Linked DNA regions of Homo sapiens: region 1 is linked to region 2. The links are contacts of gene promoters, found by promoter capture Hi-C in blood cells and fetal thymus (Javierre and others, 2016). All regions are on one chromosome and are shown on one strand. The core of a region is centred on a gene start or on the middle of the fragment in contact, and the rest is flanking DNA. Distances in the headings are between cores, read along the strand shown. Region 1 overlaps ERICH2 (glutamate rich 2). Region 2 holds the start of MYO3B (myosin IIIB).

Region 1 (4,435 bases), core at 327-2,826, 620 kb before region 2:
CTAGCTCTGTGTGAGGTAACAAAGAACATTGGGTTTAAGGTTCACAAAATCTCTCATACTGGGACATAACCAAGCATCTCTAAGTTTCAGTTTCCTCATCTGAATTCCAACATCCCAGCCAATATTTAACCTTAGATTCCTCAATTATGTCAAATTCAGTTTGTGTAATTGATGGGGATAATAGCATGCTCTTCAGATGACTGTGAGAAGCAAGTAGGTTAAATAATGTAAACAATAATTTGCAGATTTTTTAAGCTATTATTACTACATACCTATTATACACACGTGCCTATTGTCAGGTCATGCCAACACCTTACCATTTCATTCATTAGTGAGGGCTAGTAGGATGAAGAGTATGGACAGGGGGTACTGATGATCCTGAATGAACAAGCCTCATAAATTCTTAGATTTAGCTATAACATAGCCTGTGATATCATGGCTTTTTATTCGGACAGTTTCTTCCTCAAAGCTTCCCTGTTCCTTTAAAAGACAACTAAAATCTCATTGTAACTTATTTAGTCTTCAATGTCAGCTTTAGGGTATACTATGAACTTCTTATGGAGGGTTCTCCTTAATCAGGTAAGCATCATTAGATTGAGATATGGTGGTTTTCCCATGGTGGAATGAATATTAAACCCAAAAGAAAATGAAAAGAACAGGTAATTCCTGAGATCTGTCAGTCAAACCTCTGATGCTATTTGGTTATTTATGCATGAAGCCCTGAGAGTTTACTGCAGATTTAGAAAGGGTAACTAGAGGATTACACATATCCATCTTCATTTCTTTTGGTCATCCCTATGAATTGGTGCTGCAGATTTTCTTCCTCTGAATGTTAACAGGCCACAATGCCTAAAGAATAAGCAATGCCGCAAACATTTTGGATATGTTGTGACACTGTACTGACATAAGATAAAAATTCAAAATGCTTCCCCTCAAATCGGATTGGCACATTTGTAAACAAATTACTTAGGAATATTTTTCTTTTACCTCAGTTACTGCTTTGGTCTATATGTGGTTTGCCCCCTTCAAAACTCATGCTGGGCTGGGTGCAGTGGCTCACACCTATAATCTCAGGATTTGGGGAAGCTGAGGTGGAAGAATCACTTGGGGCCAGAAATTTGAGACCACTGTGGGCAACACAGCAAGATCCTGTCTCTACAAAAATTGTTTTAAAAAATATTAGCTAGATGTGGTGGCACGTGACTGTATTCCTAGCTACTCAGGAGTCTGAGGCAGAAGGATCACTTGAGCCCAGGAGTTCAAAGTTGCAGTGAGCCATGATCACACCACTACACTCCAGCCTGGGTGATGGAGCAAGACCCTGTCTCAACAACAACATAAAAACAAAACAAAACAAAATTCATGCTGAAATTTGATCCCCAGTATGTCGTGGAGTTGGGAGGTGGGAGGTGTTTGGGTCAGGCGGGTGAGTTGAATCCCTCATGAGTAGATTAATTTGGGGGCCGGGGGTGAGTGAGGTCTTGCTCTCATAGGAATGGATTAGTTCCCATGAGAGTGGGTTTTTAAAAGAGTCTGGCTTCCTTGGTTTCTCTTGCTTCCTCTCTTGCTGTGTGATCTCTTTGCACATGCCTGTTCCCCTTCTACTTTCTGCCATGAGTGGAAACAGCATGAGTCCCTCACCAGATTCAACTGCCCAATCTTCAACTTCCCAGCCTGCAGAACCGTAAGCTAAATAAACCTCTTTTCTTTATAAATTACCGAGCCTCAGGTATTTTCTTATAGTAACAAAAAACAGACTAAGACAGTTACCTTACAACCTAATTTGAAAGTGGCAGAAATCCAGCAAGAACTACAGAATCAGCACAATAAAATAGATGGGTACGTAAGAAGTATAAGTCTTGTAAATGTTTTATGAAAGAATATAAATATTTCCACTAACTTTCACTTCATTTGTTCATTAATTTGGTATATGTGTTCTATTATTTGCCAGGTACTTGTCCAGTTGCTGGGATATTATGAGGAAAATGATAAAGTTCTGCTTCATGGGTGTTACATTCTCTGGCAGGTAGGGAGAAGATGAAATGAACAATTAAACAAGCATTTCAGACACTGATACATGCTGTAAAGAACATACAATGAATGGGCTGGGCACAGTGGCTCACGCCTGTAATCCCAGAACTTTGGGAGGCCAAGATGGGGGGATCACTTGAGGCCAGGAGTTTGAGACCAGCCTGGTTGATGTGGCAAGATCCCATTATCTAGACAAACAAACAAATGATGAATGATATAAAAGTGCCTGAAATGGTGGTAATTTATAGGGAACTAAACATATGAATTCTGGGGCAATAATGTCCATGCACAAATCCAGGCTCTACAAACAAATAGGTGTATGATACTGGACAAATTATTCACCCTGTCTGTGCCTCAGTTTTCTCATCTGTAGAATGGCATAATAATAGTACTTAATGGGGTTGTTGAATTATACAATGTGTGTAGAGCAGTTTGAACAGTACCTGGCACACAGTCCTATGTAAGTGTTTTCAACTATTTTCCTCTCTGAGTAACTCATATATTGAGCTAAGGCCTAAATATTAGGAAGAGTCTTAAGCCAAGAATATAGATAACTTAAAAGAAACTGTACCAAATAAGGAAGAATTAGACTAAAATGTCACTTGTCTTTATATTTGCATGGTATACATTAATGAAAATACATGAAGCTTCAAGTATTGCAGCAACACTCATGATCCATCTTCACCTTCGTCAGAGCTCTCGTCACTCAGCTCCTCATCGCTTTCTCCTTTACTCTCACCACTGCTGTCTTCATCACTGTTTTCACCGTCTTGCTCATGATTCTGAGTTTTCTCTGCCACAGAAAGGAAGAGGATTGCTTAAGGTGTTTCTTAATATTTCACTCTGAAAAATAATTCTCCTTGCCCCTCCCTCTACCAAGAAATACATATATTTGTAACATAAGAACTGAGTTGGACTTGGCTAACTGCACTAGGGTCAAATGGTAGTACAAAGAAGAAATGTATTTTTACTGGCATACAGGTGTTTTTGATAATTTAAAACATAAGTCTATAAAAATAATTTTACTATTGTCAATGAAATTCTATTTAACGATTTCATAGAATTCTTTCTATCATAGAATTTTATTGACAATAGTAAAATTGTCCATTGAAAGGAATTGAGACAAGGTAATTGAGAGGGTGTGGCTTCCCTTGGAATTGTGGGTAATTCCTTTAACACGCAGCCGTGTTAGCATATTCTGCTTGTCAATACCTGATGCCTGGTGCCCAGGGAGCCTGCTCTGCTCGGGCAGTTCTATCCCACAGAGAGAAGGGGGTCATTGTGACCATCCACAGAGGACAAGCTGTTTCACTAAACCATTTAAGACAGCCATTTAGCCTTTTCTTAACCACTTCCTAAAGATGTATCGACAATCTCCCGGGATAATGGGTTTTTAAAGTGACTGCTTATAGTTCTATGAGAAACAAGGAATTTCAATTTTTAAAATTACCCATCAGCAACATTTCTTCAATAAGTGTGAAAAACTCCTTGGCCTCAGGATTTTCTGGTTCATAGATTAGGACTGAAAATGAAAATGGACAACAGAATGTGTGTTATTAACGTTCAGTGTTGCAGCAAACAGGCTCCTTAGAATGAAATTGAACTGTCAGTCAGAGCAGGTGAAAGGCACAATGCAATAAACACTAACAATTATACCACAGGTATATCTGAGTACAAATAGAGAAAATTCTGCACTTCTATTTTGCACTTTGGAAGATAAATGATCCTCACTATATTTTCTTTCTTTCTTTTTTTTTTTTTTTTTTTCCCTGAGACAGGGTGTCGCTCTGTTACCCAGACTGGAGTGCAGTGGCATGATCTTGGCTCACTGCAGCCTCTGCCTCCCGGGTTCAAGTGATTCTCGTGCCTCAGTTTCCTGAGTAGCTACAGGTGTGTGCCACCACGCCTGGCTAAGTTTTGTATTTTTGGTAGAGACAGGGTTTCACCATGTTGCCCAGGCTAGTCTCAAACTCCTGACCTCAGGTGATCCACCCACCTCGGCCTCCCAAAGTGCTGGGATTACAGGCATGAGACACTGCACCCAGCCCTCATTATATTTTCTACCTCCTATCCATAGAAAGCAATCTCTATCACCTCAATATAGCTTCCCTCATAGGACAGTAGCCAGAGTGTTTCATGAACATAATCATTTCCCAAAGAAGGTACAAATTCTGCAAAATATGGAGACTTTGCTAATGAGAAGACTGTGTGCCTAGAGGTCTGTTAATCCTTCATCTCATGTCATCCACCCATCTACATGACATCCTTTACTAAAGGTCTCATCGGAACACAGAGGAAGTTTTTGTTTGTTTGTTTTTAATGCAACCTCTTCCATGCTAGAGATGCCATTTTGTTACATCTTTCCAATAGGGGAACTGATGTTACTTCTTTCTCTTCATCTTGA
Region 2 (4,440 bases), core at 1,941-4,440:
AAACATTACTAGAACTAATTAGTGAGTTTATCAGAATTACAGGATACAAACAAGGTCAATATTTTAAATTCAATTATATTTCTACATACTAGAAAGGAAAACTTTTCAACAGTGCTAAAACAATTGTAGAGCAATATGCAAAAAGAAAAAAAGAATCTTTATCCTTACACCACATATAAAAATTAACTTTAATCATTAAACAGATGTAAGAGCTAAAACTCTATTAAACTTGAAGTAGATAGACATACAAGATTGTTCACTATAGTATTATTTTCAGTAGAAAACCAGATACAACCTAGAGGCCCATCATCATGGAGAGATTATCTAATAAATCATAATAGTTACATAAAATTAAATACAATGTAGCCACAGGTAACCACCAAAAAGAAAAAAGGTAAATTTTCTGCCAATTAATATGGAAAGAATGCCAAATATACAATTAAGATTTGTTTTAAAAGTGTTGAATAGTGTATAGAGAGGACAATTTTTGTGTAAATACAAAGAATATTTGCATTTCTAGTCATTTTATGTGTATATTTGTGTGTATGTCTCTATGTATGTGTATATCCTTATATACATTTTTCCAGAAGGCTACACAGGAAACTCTTAAACTTTAGGGAGAGGTGGTAAAAATCAGAGAGTTTGGAAAAGAGAGAAATTTATATGCTTTTTAAAATTATTACACATTTTTAGTCATGTTTTTTGCTAGTGCATATGTTATTCTACTTTTTAAAATAAATATTTTTTAAAAAAACATATAAGAGATCTCTACAGAGGAGACTATTATGACCCAAATGTGTGCTGAAGTCAGAGGATAGCAGAAACCATATGAAACAGAGGCTCATCCTGAGAAGAAAAAGAAAACAGAGAAATAAGAAACTGAAAGGACCATGCTTGAGAGAGTGAGACAAAGAGGATTAGTGAGTGGGTTCACTGTGAATTCTACATCTTGGCCCTCTGAGGCCTGCTAAGCTTTGCTGTCTGTCCTTGTAACCCATGAAATTTCCTACTGCATTCTTCCAAGCAGCCCCTCTTTTCATGAGCTGATTTGAGTTTCTCGTGAGCTAGTTTTAGTTCCTTAACAACCCCAAATTGGTCTAGTCTGATCCCTTGTTGAATACCCTGAATTAGTCCCTAACGGAGGTACAGCCTTACCTTGTTGAAAGTAAAGCACTCTGCAGCATGCACCCTGTGAATGTCTGCAGTTAGTCAAGCCTAGCGAGCATGATTTAAATAGAAACTTGCCCAGCAACATTTTATACTCATTAGAAAATTCATGATGAAGATTTCCATTGCTCAGTATGCTATTCAGAATATTTTTTCTAGATGTTATAGTATGGTATATATGAATCACAAATCATAGAATGCTTTCAAATCTAGAGAATAGATTTTAGAAAGAAGAAATCGGAAACCTGAACTGTGAAATGTCAGAGGAAATCTGTACAAATATTAAATATAACACCCAGAGATACACAGAATAAGGAAACACATACCATACAAGCGTGAGTAAATTAGAGAATAATTCCAAACCAATACATAAGCAAGTGCATAATAGTTGTGTTAGTCCATTTTCTGCTGCTGTAACAGAATACCACAGACTGCATCATTTATAAACAATAGAAGTTTATTTGGCTCATGGTTCTGGAGGCTGGGAAGTCCAAGATCAAGGGGCCACATCTGGTGAGGGCCTTCTTGCTGCATCATAACATGGTGGAAGGTCTCACATAGTGAGACAGGGCAAGAGAGTGAGAGCTCAAGAGAGAGAAAAAGGAGACTGAACCTATCCTTTTACTAGGAGCCGTCTCCCACAATAACAGCATTAATCCATTCATAAGGGCAGAGCCCTCATGACCTAGTCACCTCTTAAAGGTCCCATTTCTTCTCACAATGGCAATTAAATTTCAACATGATCTTTGGAGGGGACATTCAAACCATAACCATGGTAAAGACGTAAGAGTAGGAACTGGCTTCTTCACAAACCACCTATCTGGATGCTGCTAGATAGGGCCTGTTCAAGTATAGCTCAAATGTCTTCTCTTCTAGGAGGCCTTTCCTAATTTTCCCACTAGAACTGACCTTTATGGTTCCACTGATTATGTACTCTTTTCCTTTCTTTAAATTTTATTTTATTTTAAGTTCCAGGTTACATGTGCAGGACGTGCAGGTTTGTTACACAGATAAACATGTGCTATGGTGGGTTGGCTGCACCTATTAAGCCCCCCATGCATTAGCTATTTATCCTGATGCTCCAGGGGAGACACTCAGGACTGGCATTTGACAGAGCTTGGTAGAGGAATCCAATGATCTCTAGGTTGATCTCTAAGTTCCATCTCTAATGTTCTATGGATTTTAAACCTTGAATATACAAAATTACTGAGAGGAAGAAAAGAATCATGGCATAATGGAATTTATCTACTATTGTTTACATTGTCATGTTACCAAATTAACAAATCTGTCATGATATTGCAGTCACTAAGGAACAATACATACCCACAGCTCTTACAAATGATTAACTAAATGATCAGATTTTTCATTTCCCCACCAAAGCATGAGGAAATTTATCTTAGCTTTAGCTGCCTGAAACCTCTCTTGGGTGAAAAACATTAAAAACATCTGCAAATTACTGATGACTAATGCCCTTCAATTTGGCCTCAAGCTGAGAAATTCTGTGCAGAAATAAAGTGGTTTATAATCCCACAGGTCCATTCTATTATAAACTGCAGGTGGCAAATCAAGTGACTATGAACTATGCTGTGTGTATGTGTGTGTGTGTGTGTGTGTGTGTGTGGTGTGTGTCTGTGTAAAAAGCAATACTCAAGAGGGTGTTTATCCTACTCCTTCAAGAGAAATTTAACCACCCAGACAAAAGGCAAATGCTAACTGAGAGGACCCAGGAATCTGGGTGATGTCAGACAGAGGCCCAAAGCCAGAGTGGCTGTCATCCCCCTCCACTGCCCACCAGCCAGGGCAGCTGCATCTGCCCTTTGCAGAAAAACAATCTAAAGCAAGCACAGAAGAAAGCTGGAAGGAAAATAACTGCAACTCACATCGATGACCTATTTTCTGAATCCGGCTTATGAGAGATTGGATTCTCATTCCTCCAAAAACCAGCAGAACACTTCAGGCCCAGAAAATGGTGTCTTTGATGACTAGAATGTATGACACATCATTACCAAAGGACTTTCGATCTAGGTTCCAAGAGGTGTTAGCCTCAGATGACTATTGTGGGAGGAGCTGATAAATCCACCAAATCCTTGGTGACTTTGCTTCACTATTAGGCAAGATTAAGATGATGCTAATTGGTAGTGAGCCTGATCTATTTAGTGTCTCCTACCAGGACACAGAGCAGAATCAAAACCATTCTCACAGATCCTGTTTGCATGTCATTTAACAGTTCCAATGTGATATTCCCCCAACCTTTTAAAGTTCCTTCATTCCAGATTAAATTCCTTCATTCCAAATGCTGCACAATCAAAACTAATCATCTTTTTGTGAGCAAAGGGCATAATCAAAGCATGTAGTCAGGGTCACTTTTCTGAACTGCAGATAAACCCAGGGGAAACACCATGAGTTTCTGATCTGAATTACCAAGCAATGAAACAGTGACTATTCAACAGTGACTATTCATTCAGTAGCATGCCCTGGGCTATATACAGAACAGTAGGTTAAGAGGAGGCAGGGGGTGGGGGGGTGGTGCTGGGCATGGTGGATCACGCCTGTAATCCCAGTACTTTGGGAGGCCAAGGCTCGTGGATCACCTGAGGTCAGGAGTTCGAGACCAGCCTGGCCAACATGGGGAAACCCCATCTCTACTAAAAATACAAAAATTAGCAGGGTATGGTGGTGTGCGCCTGTAATCCCAGCTACCAGGGATGCTGAGGCAGGAGAATTGTTTGAACCTGGGAAACGGAGGTTGCAGTGAGTAGAGATTCTGCCACTGCACTCCAGGCTGGGCAACAAAGTAAGACTCCATCTCAAAAAAAAAAAAAAAAAAAAAAAAGGGAGAGAGGGGAAGTGAGAAACAGGAGGGTAGGGTCCCCAGAAAGCTTCTTTTCTGGCCAGCTAACATGACACATAGGCCCATGTGAAATAGTTGAAGACTGTGCAATAACACTGGATAAGCTATATCCATCAATTCTGAGGAGGAGTCAGTTCAACCCAGGACCAAGACTTGAGTGGGAATGCTTCCTGGAGCAGATAAATCTAGGTACAGTTTTGAATGAAGAAGTGAAAAGGATTAGTGTAGATGAGGCAGGAGAGAAACCCAGAGCCAAGAAACAGCACACAGAGAATGCAAATATGAAGAAGGTGATTTAAAGGACAGCGATCTTACTCCCGCTAGTCAATAATGGCCTTTGTGTTTCCATTTACTGTCATAAGAATCTTAAGAATGGGGATAATGTGTTCTATCTTCCTATATTTCCTACAGTATTTGCACAT

The links. The method cuts DNA at HindIII sites, captures the fragments that hold promoters and counts their contacts. A CHiCAGO score of 5 or more calls a contact.
Region 1: a contact is called between a fragment that was not itself captured here and the fragment with the promoter of MYO3B in region 2, in 1 of 17 cell types (erythroblasts). The highest score is 6.0, in erythroblasts.

What each region holds. Positions count from the first base shown.
Region 1 is chr2:170,797,159-170,801,593 of GRCh38, reverse strand. ERICH2 (glutamate rich 2) reads right to left here. Exons shown (of 10, transcript NM_001290030.2): 9 at 3,482-3,553; 10 at 2,617-2,824. The coding sequence ends at 2,700. Among named protein-coding and RNA genes, the nearest start is that of GAD1, 18 kb to the left of the region's middle. The HindIII fragment of the contact is 2,209 bases long and covers 472-2,680 here.
Region 2 is chr2:170,176,897-170,181,336 of GRCh38, reverse strand. It overlaps MYO3B (myosin IIIB), which reads right to left and starts at 3,190. Exons shown (of 35, transcript NM_138995.5): 1 at 3,048-3,190. The coding sequence starts at 3,049. RefSeq lists an enhancer at 779-1,008. The HindIII fragment of the contact is 3,074 bases long and covers 975-4,048 here.